Regions from separate parts of the Homo sapiens genome. Here region 2 is linked to region 1. The links are contacts of gene promoters, found by promoter capture Hi-C in blood cells and fetal thymus (Javierre and others, 2016). All regions are on one chromosome and are shown on one strand. The core of a region is centred on a gene start or on the middle of the fragment in contact, and the rest is flanking DNA. Distances in the headings are between cores, read along the strand shown. Region 1 holds the start of SC5D (sterol-C5-desaturase). Region 2 overlaps SORL1 (sortilin related receptor 1).

Evidence for each region. The method cuts DNA at HindIII sites, captures the fragments that hold promoters and counts their contacts. A CHiCAGO score of 5 or more calls a contact.
Region 2: a fragment that was not itself captured here is called in contact with the fragment with the promoter of SC5D in region 1 in 9 of 17 cell types (non-activated CD4 T cells, neutrophils, total CD8 T cells and 6 more); the score reaches 11.4 in non-activated CD4 T cells.

What each region holds. Positions count from the first base shown.
Region 1 is chr11:121,290,082-121,296,505 of GRCh38, reverse strand. It overlaps SC5D (sterol-C5-desaturase), which reads right to left and starts at 3,735. Exons shown (of 5, transcript NM_006918.5): 1 at 3,690-3,735. RefSeq lists enhancers at 146-688, 689-1,230, 3,944-3,993 and a silencer at 3,724-3,773. The HindIII fragment of the contact is 7,130 bases long and covers 1-4,869 here.
Region 2 is chr11:121,561,725-121,568,148 of GRCh38, reverse strand. It overlaps SORL1 (sortilin related receptor 1), which reads right to left. Exons shown (of 48, transcript NM_003105.6): 22 at 1,036-1,209. Among named protein-coding and RNA genes, the nearest start is that of SORL1-AS1, 110 kb to the right of the region's middle. The HindIII fragment of the contact is 4,851 bases long and covers 1,348-6,198 here.

The DNA.
Region 1 (6,424 bases), core at 2,486-4,985:
GAAGGACATCACCAGAAAGAAAAGGTTAGGGATAGCCATTCCAAAGAGAAGTCACAACTGCAAAGCAAGAGAAGAGCATGATGCATTCATGGCTCACTGCGTGTGGTTGGTGGGTGTTAGACAGGGTGATGGGGTGGAGCAGAGGGAAAAACATGTTAGGGGATGGACTTGTAAAGGAGATTTGTTAGACTACGCATGGAGGGATCTGCTGTCCTGCTGAGGAATTTGGACTTTCTCTCACACGCTATGAGGAGACACTAAAGATTTCTAGGTAGGAAAAAGATACAATCAGACCCACATTTCATAAAAACCATTCCATTAGAAATCTGGACTACTAGGCTAGGTGAAGTGGCTAATGCTTATTCCCAGCACTTTGGGAGGCTGAGGTAGGAGGACCGCTTGAAGCCAGGAGTTCGAGACCAGCCTGGGCAACACGGCAAGACTCCGTCACTATAAAAAAGGAAAGAAAAGAAATATGGGTTATCGGTGAGAAGCAGGGAGACTAGTTTGGTTGTTCCTGTGGTAGAATAACCCAGAGAAAATGATAGCCTGACCTCGGGCAGTGGCTGTTAAGACTAGCCAGCAGAGATTTCGCGCAAGTAAAAACACCCACAGGATTTGGATAACCCACGTTTGCTGGGAAGTGAAAGAGAGAGAAATCTAGGATGACTGTGAGACTTTAGCTGGTCTAAGTAGATGGTGATGTCATTGTAATTGAAATAGGGAATACTGGCAGAGCTAGCAGATTTGGGTAGGGTAGGAATAGGGGGTGGGTAAGGAATGATGGTGTGAACAGAAAATAAATCTTGGGACTCCAAAATCACTAAGCTAAGAGAAAAGTCAGGCTGGGAACTATGTTAGGCAAACCTGCCTCCCGCTTTATTCCTAAATAAGACAGCTACAAGGATGAGAAGCTACATCCCTCCCTCACAATTTGCCCTCAGAAAATTCCTTTGTGGATAAAGGACAGACAGGACTCAAAGTCATCCCTCTGAGGCTCACCTGACACAAATGGATTTCTGATTGCTTCCTCTGCCCTATTGTTTATGTAAACATGCAGATTCACTGAGCCAGACGAAATGTGTGCATTCAGTGGAAGGCTAATCAAGGACTCAAAATAATGCAACCTTTGTCTCTTATCTGCTTCTAACCTGGAAGCCCCCACTGTGAGTTGTCCCGCCTTACCAGACCCAACCAATGTACTTCTTACACATATTGATTGATGTCTCATGTCTCCCTAAAATGTATAAAAGCAAACTGTGTCCCCGACCACCTTGGGCACATATTGTCAGGGCTTCCTGAGGCTGTGTCACGGGTGAATCCTTAACCTTGGCAAAATAAACTTCCTAAATTGACTGAGACCTGTCTCAGATATCTGGGGTTCAAAACGGGTTCAATGTAGATCTTAAAACCTAATTATCTGTGGCTCATCTTCTATCTTAGATATAAGCAATAGGCCACATGTAAATATAAATGTGAAGTTCAAAAGCGAGCCTGGTTAGTATACAGGTAGTAGTTGAAGTTATAGGGGTGAAGACTGCCAAGGGAGGTGGTGTAGCAGGGACAGGGTACTACGTAATATCAGATAACATAAACATTTAATAATTGAAAAGGATATTGCTATATCACTAAAGGTTGGTAACAGCTGATGAGCCAATCTACATGTTCCCCACAGTGCCATGTGGCCCTACTTCAATACAATACCTAGAATAGTATCGTGCAACCAAAAAGAACACAAACATGTTTGATTGCTGTGAGGTTTAGAGACTAAGTAGACTTTTGACATTTGACCCAAGAAAGGTACTCAATAAAATAGCATCTATATGATTATCACTGTTAAGGCCGTCAAAAATGCGTCAAAATTACTTCAATAGAAGATAAAATAGGTGCCACTTGATTTTTGTTTGAAAAATAACTGACAGTAGTTGATAGTAATATTTAATATATACTAGGTAATATAAATATTTTAAATATATTAACTAATTTTCCCTTTCAAGAAGCCTCAAAGGTAGGTACTAGTATTATTTTATAGATGAAGAAGCTGGGCACAGAAATTTTAAGTAACTTGCATAGGGTCATAAGAGTAAATAAATGCTGGAGCTAGGATTCAAATACACACAATCTAGTTGCAAAGTACGTGAACTTCTGCCAAGTTCTATAGCCTCTTCACCACTACTTCAAGTCGTCAACTCCTGAATTTTTAAAAATGTTCAGTGCCTCTACAAGCTCATATAATTTTAAGGGGTTATAAGCCCTGAAGTTAGGGGTCCCAAGGACCCTAAATTAAGTACCACTGCTTCAAACAGAAACTTAAATACTTTGTCCTTGCAGAATTAAAGAAACTTCTTCTTAAAACTCAGTTATAATAACAATATTAGGCTTAGAACAACTCAGTCTACCATTATCTTTTTGCCCTACTTTAAAAGTATAGAAAATGATAGCTAATATTTATTGAGAACCAGGTATTATTTTTGTATAACCTCATCTAATCCCTATACCTCTATGAGATAGGTACTTCTATGCTCCCCACTTTATAGATAGGGAAACTGAGGTCAGAGTATTTAAATAACTTGTTCAGTAGCAAGCAACAATAACAGAAAAAACCAGCTGGGATGTACATTCCACAACCTTTCTCTTTGCTACCACGTTATGTTATCTCTCAAGATGTTTTATATGCAGATGAGGGATTCTGAGTACCACCCCATGCTAATTAATTACATTACATAACGAATGGAAAAGCACTCTGTAAATGATCAAGGATCAGTTATTATTTACTAGGTATCAATCATTAGAAACTTTAAAAAATGATAGTGATATAAAGACAAATAACTTCCAGAGGGTTTCCTCTAAAAGTACCGAGCTGCCACAAACTTTCCAGTTTGGAAACTCTATGTACTGAGGTCTTGTTTTCTTCACTTACACCACCTCCAAATCTACTCTGCTGTAACACAGGGATGTCAGTATACATTATTTTTCCTTTTATGATGCAAAAGGAACAGATTATTTCCCTTTTCCTTTCAGTCTCCTCAGCCCCAGATTGCTGTCCCTTCATTCTAATTACGCCGCAGCAACAGAGGCTTGCAATGGTCAGGAGTTCTGATACCGACCAGTTCTTCAGCCTGATTCTTCTGGCCTTTAAAAGAAAAAAACCCTCCCAGAACGAAGGGAAAAGTAAAGCATTCGTGTTCAGCAGCCAGACCAGAATTCCCTTGAGTAAGAGATCTGCAACACCCAACATCAAACACTGCATTTTCTTTAAGCCCGTCCACGGTCGGCTCCTTCAAGTCCAGGCCTCCCTATCGGCCCCGCGATCCCTCCCAGCGCGAGCGGAAGGCCCCTCCGCCCGGACTCCCAGGTGGCGCAGCCCTCCAGGCCCCGAGGTCCCCCGGCCCAGCCCTCGCCGCCAGTCTTCGGGATGCCAGGCTACCTGCCAGCCTCTCCTCTCACTCGGCGCAGGACTCGGATCCGTATGCTACCGCGATCCTACCATCCGCCCAACGCCTAGCACCCAGAGGGCACTCGCTAACCAACCGCGGCGCGGAGAAAAGCCGTGCTGCGAGGACACCTTCCGCCTCGCCCACCCGAGTCCCAGGCGCTGAAGTCTCTCCATCTTCTTTTATTCCATCGCCCCCCGGCCCAGCCCGCTCAGGTGTATTCCGCTTCCTTCCCCGCCCACCCACCGTCCCCACCTGGAGGTGGTCCGCCGCCGCTCCGCACGCCACTGCTCTGCAAACTGTCCTAGCAGCTGGGCAGCCAGCAAGCGGGCCGGGAGGCTGGAGCGGCCAGCCAATCAGCGACCGGCGCCATAAGCTGATATGACGGCAGATCGCGCGAAGGGCCTGCGCGCAGCTCTCCGCGGTCACGTGGGCGCCGCGCGCTCGGCCACGCCCCCTTTGTCCTCTGACTAAGGGGAGGGCGGGCGCCCCATCCGAGTACCTTTGCGGTGGAGGATGCGGTTTCGGGTTTTGCGTTTGTTTCTTTGCTTTCTTTTTAAACTAGCTCTTGTGTCATTCATGGTGGTACCAGGCAGGTTTACGGTGTTTATACAAACATTCCTAGAACGGGTGCCCTGCGTTGAGGGAAATAGACGACACTTCCTTTGACGCGAATGTCTGGGTCGTTTTCTCCCTCAAGGGAGGAGGTGCAGATGTTCCCAAACAGGTGCTCAAGGTTTTAAGACGTAGTCCCCCCGATTTTCTAGCGCTGAATGGCTGGAGGCTCCGCGAGCCGGTGTATGTAGGGGTCTAAATGGTGACAAGATGAGGGTAAACATGGACAGAAACCTTTTCACGATACAAGTTGTTGAAAACCAAGGTTAACGCAGATCTAATTGGCTTTGATTTGCTACACATGAATCGAGCAGCTCCGATTTCCTGAAACAGAGCTGAGCAGAGGAGGGTGGCTTCACAGGCAGAAGAGGACGGAGGAAAGCAGAAATAAGGAACCAAAAGATCTGTCGTTTCAGAGTGACTTTCCTTAAACAGAGATTAAAACAGAGGGGACTGACTTGTGATACCAGCTCAGCAACTTCAAAGTGGCAAACTGGGCCACTTTACCTATTACATAAATAATATGGGGAATACATGACAGAAATGAGGGATTTTTAAGGGAAAAAAATAACATGATTCGATCTGCCTTCAAAAGACTTTTCCGGTAGTTAAACTTCAAATGTACATAGGATACTGGACAAAGTTCAAATGAATTTAAAATAGTGTAGGTGGTTTTTTTAAAAAAGACTCATTATATAAATAAAAATAAATTTTAAAAAGTTTTGAGTGTCTACTTCGTTTAACACATCGTACTGAACACCGGGAATGGAAAGAGATGTTACAATAATGACAAAGACATGGTTCCCAACCTTAAAAAGCTTATGTGCTGTGGGAGAAATGGGCATGTATAAATAACTATGTTGCTTATTACAAGGACAGGAAATAAACAGTAATTGGTGGTATAGGCTGAGCACAGAGACAAAATGGCTATTCTGATGAGGGAAATTAGGGAAGGAACATTGTTTTGCCCAATGAAATGATTTGAATGGACACTTTAAAATGTTATTGAGCATAGATGATAAAACATTTATTAAACGAATAAAAGCTCAAAAGTGAAATGTTATAAGCAAACATCAAATATCCTGAATCTCTAGAATTTTATTGTTGAATATGCCTTAGCTATTACAAGTGGTCTTTATTCTTGGTGACTTAGGGATTCCCAAGAAATTTGCAATCACTCCTGACAACTCAAAGTAGTAATAAGTTAACCTCAAGAGAACAATCTTGTTTAAAAATAAATTTAAGTGTATTTTTTAATTATTATTTAAGTTCTGGGATACATGTGCAGAACGTGCAGGTTTGTTACATAGGTATACATGTGCCATGGTGGCTTGCTGCACCTTCCAACCCGTCATCTAGGTTTTAAGCCCTGCATGCATTAGTTATTTGTCCTAATGTTCTCCCTCCCCTTGCCCTCCACCCCCTGACAGGCCCCGGTGTGTGATGTTTCCCTCCCTGTGTCCATGTGTTCTCATTGTTCAACTCCCACAGTTGAACAACTCCCACATACTCAATGAGAATATGTGGTGTTTGGTTTTTTGTTCTGTGTTATTTTGCTGAGAATGATGGCTTCCGGCTTCATCCATGTCCCTGCAAAAGACATGAACTCATTCTTTTTTTTATGGCTGCATAGTATTCCGTGGTGTATAAGTGTATTAATAGCACATCCTGGGGTGCAGCATTCCTACATGTCTTTTCTATCCAGGCACACTGATGGATCAGGGTAATTTATTTATTCATTGTTTGCAAGGGTCTATGGTACCAACCAGCCAGTACCAAGGAATTCAGAGATAAGCCACAATACCTGCCTATGTGTCTGGATGGAACATGAACATGGAAACAAACCATTTAATCATTAAATTACTCAATTTATTTACTCAATAAATCATTATGTAATGGTGATAAGTGTCAGGCACTGTCATATGCACAGGAGATATACTGATAATCAAAACAAAGTCTGCTCTAATGAAGCTTACACACTAGTAAGGAGACAGAAAACTGATAATAAATAAATAGATATATAATACAATGTCGGACAGTGCTATGAAGAAAAAGAAAATGGGGTAAGAGAATCAAAATTAACGGAAGCTGTTAACTTCAGACAGCATGGTCAGTCAGTTTCTCTGAGAGGGCTACATTTGACCTGAACAGAGTTAGAAGTCCTCATTCACTTGGAAGATTCTAAACTGAGATTGAGTTTGAATTTTTTTCAATGAAATGTTGCCTTTCAATGCATCAATAATTTATCAGCCCACGTTCATTATATAACATTATACTTTAATGAGAACACTAAGCACTAAACTGTTTAAAGACCTTTGTCTTTACAAAGGTACTACAAAGGAAACTACAAAGACTGTAGTTTCTGAAGTTAGGAA
Region 2 (6,424 bases), core at 2,524-5,023, 270 kb before region 1:
TTGGGAGGCAGAGGAGGGAGGATCCCTTGAGCCCAGATGTTCAAGACCAGACTGGGCAACAAAGTGAGACCTCGTCCCTATAAAAGAAATTAGCTGGGCTCGTGCCTGTAGTCCTAGCTTCATGGGAAGCTGAGACAGGAGGATCCCTTGAGCCCAGGAGTTTGAGTTGAAGCTGCAGTGAGCCGTGAATGTGCCAGCCTGGGCAATACAGCAAGACCCTGTCTCTTTCTTGTCTCTTTAAAATATATATAAAAAAAAAGGCAAATAGAATCACAGATAAGGAAAAGCAGAAATTCTGGCCATCAATCCATGCACTTCATGGCAAGGTGCCCTTGCAGGGGTTCACCTCACTCACAGAAACGTGATGCTGGAGGCGGGGGAAGTGGTGACAGTAAAAATTACACAGGAAGGAAAAACTTTTTAAATTTCGGAGGAAAGAAATGTTAAATCTCTATATTCAAATTCAGAGGGGGAGTGGGTGTAAGGCTGCTCTTGCTGCTTGGTCATGGCATAAGGTCTAGACTCAAAGTGCTTTGCAAACATTGGTCTGAAAGTTCAGGACACACTGGGCTAGGCTACGGTGAGAGGATGGACAACCGTTAGGTGAGAGTAAACGCGGAAGGAGTCACACTGGTTATTTTTCCCAATCAGGTTGGTCCAACTTATGCAAAACAGGAGCAGGTAAGAAACCTGGATGTGAGGGATGGGTGAGGAGAGGAAGAAGCAAAAGAATAAAAAGGGAGACCCTGAAGAAAGCCTGTGCCATCTGACATGAAACCAAAAACCACAGCTACTACTTAGAAAGGTACAGCATAGGCCTGTTCTGAGTGAGGACTGAAGGGCCTCTTTGACCCTTACCAGGACTTAGAACCCAAACCAGTATTCTTATGAGTATCTGGTAGGTTTGATTTTTACCTTGGACTTTTTCCAATAACACGAAAAGGTTAGGAAACAGAGAGCTATCCCTCCCTCCCCTGGCGGGGAGCAGGAAACAAAGGAAGGAGGATGACAGGCAAAAAAGAAAAAGGGAAGTACCTTGTTTGACACAGGTATTGTTCTTGAGCTGATAGCCCTGAGGGCAGTCACACATCAGGTCCCCTGATGGAAGCACACTGCTGGACACATCCTCTGGACACCTGCAGCTTCTACTGTTGTTGGCCTTGGGCAGGCACAGCAGGCTGCATGGCCTGGGCACACAGGCATTGCTTCCTGGAGGGAAGACAAACAGCAGCAGGTAGGTTAATACACACCATGAGGGAGGTACTGAATACAAGAAGGAGACCCACTGCAACCTCCTCGTCTTACGGAAAGGACAGCGAGAAGCTCTCAAGGGTCAAGTGGCAAGCTTTGGGGCGCCTACTGTGCTGAAAACTTCTGCTCAGTATAACCAGTGACTTGCATCCTGTCTTCAGCCAGATCAGACTGCCCCAGAGCCAAGCCAGGCAGCAGGGTTCCTCCTGGGAATTTGTAATTGGGTCACTGAAAGACAAGAAAGCAACCAAGGAGCTGGAGCCAGGGAAAGGGTCACAGAGCATGGGTGTTGAAGTGGCACATGGCAAGCCAAAACCGTGTGGAAGTCAAAACTCTGGGTATGCAGATAAGCTCAGTCTGCAGACCGTCAGGAGACTAAAAGAGACTTAAGGAGGCCAGGCATGGCAGCACGCACCTGTAGCCCCAGCTACTCAGGAGGCTGAGGCAGGAGGATCACTTGAGCCTGGTAGCTCGAATCCAGCCTGGGCAATATAGCAAGATCCTATCCCTTAAAAAAAATTTTTTTTTTTAATTTAAAAAAGAACCAGAATGTCTTTGGACTTCTCAATTACAACACTAGTGGCTATAATATAGTTGAACATTGCCTTCAAAATTCCGAATAATTTTTTTTTTAAAAAGAAAGAGGCTTACAGAGAGAAGAGGCCTAATGAGAGGGAAAGAGAAAGAACAGCTCCAGTCCCCATGAGGCTCTCCTAGACTTTCATCTTTGGGCTCCTTTATTCATTCCATAAAACCATTCACTTGAGCTAGCTTGAGTGGGTTTCTGCTCCTTAGGGCCCCAAAGGCCTTAATTAGAACATACACCTGGTTAATGGTGGGCCCAGGACAAAAATCCAGGCCTCCCCTTCTCAATTCCTTTGTGCCAGAGTGCCCCTCAAGAGCTAAAGGAGGAGCCAACCACAGTACTCATCAGCCACTGCTGTGCAATGTGTTCAGGTAAGGACTAGTTCATGCTGATCTAGCCCACTCCTGCCAATCTTTTCTCTGGTTCAGCTTACTAAAGGCAGCACCGGAGAGAGTTCGTAAAATCCACCACTGCACTCTTGAGAAGGAGCCTTTGTGGATGAACGAGGATGGCAAAAGTGCCATCCTATCCCCTACATCGTTCCGGGGATGGCAGGTAAGAAGATGCATAAACCATTTTATAACAATCTGAAACATGATACAACTATGGGGTCACAGAAACTATGAAATCATGTTTTTTCTTTTGACTGCAATTATTAATCATGAAAATGGGAAAAATGAACATAAAAACTTAGATAAAACTCAATTGCTAATTCTTCATTCGTGCTATGTCATGGACAGAGATGCCCTCCCACACTTCAGCACCATATCCAAATCATCTGTTGCCACCCAGCCAAGCATTCATCTAAGCCATGCCTATCCTGGCCTACAGGTTAGACGAAGTTCATGAATGATAATCAGTGTCGATATGGATAATATACGCAGTAGCTTTGGGTGTGTGGGCACATCATTGGTTAATTTACATTACAAATAAAAATAAAAATCACAATGCTATGGCAACAACGTTATTATGATGCCAAGGAAAAGAGTAAGAGGTATTACCAAAGAGAAAACACACACATCCAGAGGAAGGGAGGTTCATATGATGAAACATTCCAAAAGATTCAGTAAATAGAGAGAAAACATACACCTCCAGAGGAAGGGAAGTCCACATGATGAAACAGTCCAAAAGGTTCAGTAAATAATCAATCATAACAGCTTAATTACCATAGCAGACTAACCAGCTGACTAGAGCAGAAGTCCCAGACATCCCTTCACTCTGATCCATTAGTGGGCACAGATGGCTCCTTTAGTTCAAAGGTACAGGCCACTGGCTACAAGAGGGAATGCAGAATTGACATAGAGCCACCACTCATGAGAAACAACTCAAACAAGGATGTGGGAACATGTGTTTTGTATTCAAAGAACAATATATCACTCAATGTTCCAAGATCCTGAACAATAATGGAATATGATGTTATTTTAAAATACTCTATTACCGGCTGGGTGCAGTGGCTCACATCTGTAATCCCAGCAGTTTGGGAGGCCGAGGTGGGAGGATCACTCGAGCCCAGGAGTTCGAGACCACCCTGAGCAACATAGTGAAGACCGCCTCCACAAAAAAAAAATAAGCAAAATTAGCCGGGTACACATCTGTGATCCCAGCCACTTCAGAGGCTGAAGTGGGAAGATTGCTTAAGCCCAGGAGACAGAGGCTGCAGTTAGCTGAGATGGCGCCACTGCACTCCAGCCTGGGTAACAGAGCCAGAGCCTGTCTCAAAAACAAACAAACAAACAAAACGAACAAATAAAAAAAACTACTCTATTACAGGATGATTTTTTTCACAGGGATCATGTCTGTAAAATCATTTCACTAACCTTTTCATATGCAGAGCAAATATTCCTATCCAAACAAGCAAGAAGAGCTAAGAGTAGAGAACTCAAAATGGGGTATCATATTTCAGGAGGCTGATCTAGGCAGAAATGTATGAAACTGTACTCTGAGGCAGTAACCAGGGGCAAACTGCAAAACAAGCTAACCAAGTCACTGATCCTAAGAGGTAGGCAGGGGCAGGAATGTCTAGGCTAGTCTGAAGCCAGAGAATGGAAAATGGGAGAGCTGCATCAGAGAGAAGCTGGAAGAAGATGGAAGGGTAATTCACCAACTCCTATGATGGCAGTTCTACCACAGCCACAGACCCTTTATACAGGATGACAATTGTCTTGAGTGGACCAGGCAATATGAAAACCGTTATCTCAATGTGAAGAGTGGACAATCATCTTCAAAGACATTCCCTTAGAAGATCAAACACATAGCCCCGTGATGTCTTCACTGGGCATGTTCAGAACATTTTCACATTTCCTGTTTGGAAAATTCCTCCAGGAATACTTTAGGAGCCAAAAATGTCATCATCTCAAGTATCTATACACTTGGCAATTATCAAAATCAAATCTACCTCAAATAATAAATATGTGCCCTCATTATAGATACTTAAAAGCACATACTTACTGCAGGCTCTAAAGGAGAATTCCAAAACTGCAAAAGAATTCCAAAGCTCCAAGAGCCATCGCAGGAGCAACTGAATACATCAACAATCTTGTAAAGTAACCTCTTTAAAGAAAAAACACACTTTACAAAGAATAAATTCCAGTTATACCATTTAAAAACCAGCTAGTGGCCAGACACAGTGGCTCACACCTGTAAATCCTAGCACTTTGGGAGGCCGGGGCGTGCAGATTGCCTGAGCTCAGGAGTTCAAGACCAGCCTGGGCAACATGGTGAAACCCAATCTCTACTAAAATACAAAAAATTAGCCAGGCATGGTGGCACATGCCTTTAGTCCCAGCTACTTAGGAGGCTGAGGCATGAGAATTGCTTGAACCCAGGAGGCAGAGGTTGCAGTGAGCCAAGATCACATCACTGCACTCCAGCCGGGGTAACAGAACGAGACTCTGTCTCCAAAAAACTAAACAAATAAAAAATAAAAACCAGCTAGCTATAAAGGACCAAATATTTCAAATTGATAAATGTTGCAACTGAACAACATTTTTATTATGAACCATCATCAATCAAAATCTAGAACAGTACTTCTGAACTGCTGTCATACTACCAGGGCACTGCTATTCTAGCAACACATGACAGAGGGAGCAGAGCCGGGTGGTTTTATCGAAGTTCAGGCTTTGAAGTCAACGGGCCACAGTGCAAATTCTTACCACTTACTAAAAGTGTGACCTACACAAGTTACTAAACCAGACTTTCATATTCTCACCTATAAAATGGAAATATTGATAGTACATATAGAAGTCTTTGGGAAGACGAAGTGAGGTTATACAAGCCCACAAAGCACATTACTGTGGTACTTATAACACAGCAACCCCTCAATACATGTAGTTACTATCAATTATTATTATTTAACACTTGGTTAATATAGTAGTCCCCTCTTATTCCAAAACCCCCAATTCCAAGACCCCTAGCTGACACCTGAAACTGCAGATAGGACCAAACCTATACTGTGCATGAATTTCTTTTTCTTTCTTTACAATTTCAGAGATAGAAGGTTCGTTCTTACAGCAGATCTTAGCAAACTCGGTGTAAGATTTTTTTTCCTCCCTTATTAAGTCTAGAACTTTCACCCTTTCCCTAAAGGAAGCACTTTACAACCTCCCTTTGGCATATCCAAATTACTGGAATCACTACTCTTGAGGTGTAGGGTCATCATGAAGTAAAATAAGGGTTCCTTGCGTACAAGAACTGCAGTACTTTGACACCCTGATAACCCAGCCGGCTCCTAAAGGGACTAATGAGCCGGCAGCATCAACAGCATGAGACGCTGGACAAAGGGAGGATTCACATCCCAGGTGGGACAGGGAGGAGACAGTACAAGATTTCATCACACTATTCAGAACAGCAAGCAATTTAAATCTTATACATTGTTTATTTCTGGAATCTTCCATATATATTTTTGGACAGTGGTTGACCGCAGGTAGCTGAAATCACAGAAAGCAAAATGGCAAATAAGCAGGAGACTACTGTAGAAAGTCCCGAATGTGTTAGGAGGAGACAACAAAAATAATAAAGATGGACAGGAGTCACATTCTTTCTTAGAGGAGTCACCTGTTTTAAAATAAGGAGAGTTGAAGGAATCTTGCTTCTCAGCTCCAGTGACTGAAATATTCAGGCCCTTGCTTGATGGAGGACATCCACCCCTACTGATCTGACTTGCTAGCTAGCAGAGTGGATTTTTAGCATTTCTCCAAGTGCTAGATCCAACACACACCGTGGATCTGTAATACAATGTCCAAAAAAGCAAGTGTCCTATCAGTGTCCAAAAAAAGCAAGCAGGTTAGAGCAAACAAGTTCAAGGCCAAGAGGTGCGGAGTGCTCATAGACAGTGCTGACAGCCAGACACCACTGCAAAAGCTTTGATTTGACCCAAACTGGGCTGCAGAGAAAGACAAAAACGTCTTTCTCCAGCCCTGTGTTTGGAGGCAGTAGGTCTCCTGGAAGTATCCTGCTCACAACCAAAGGACAGCAAGAGAAAATCCCAAAGGCAAACAGAAAGGAGCAGAGAGGCGACAACTGGCCATGGCCAAAGGGACAGTCACAGCCGCCCATGCACAGGTCCAGGTCTGTGTTCTACTCACCAAC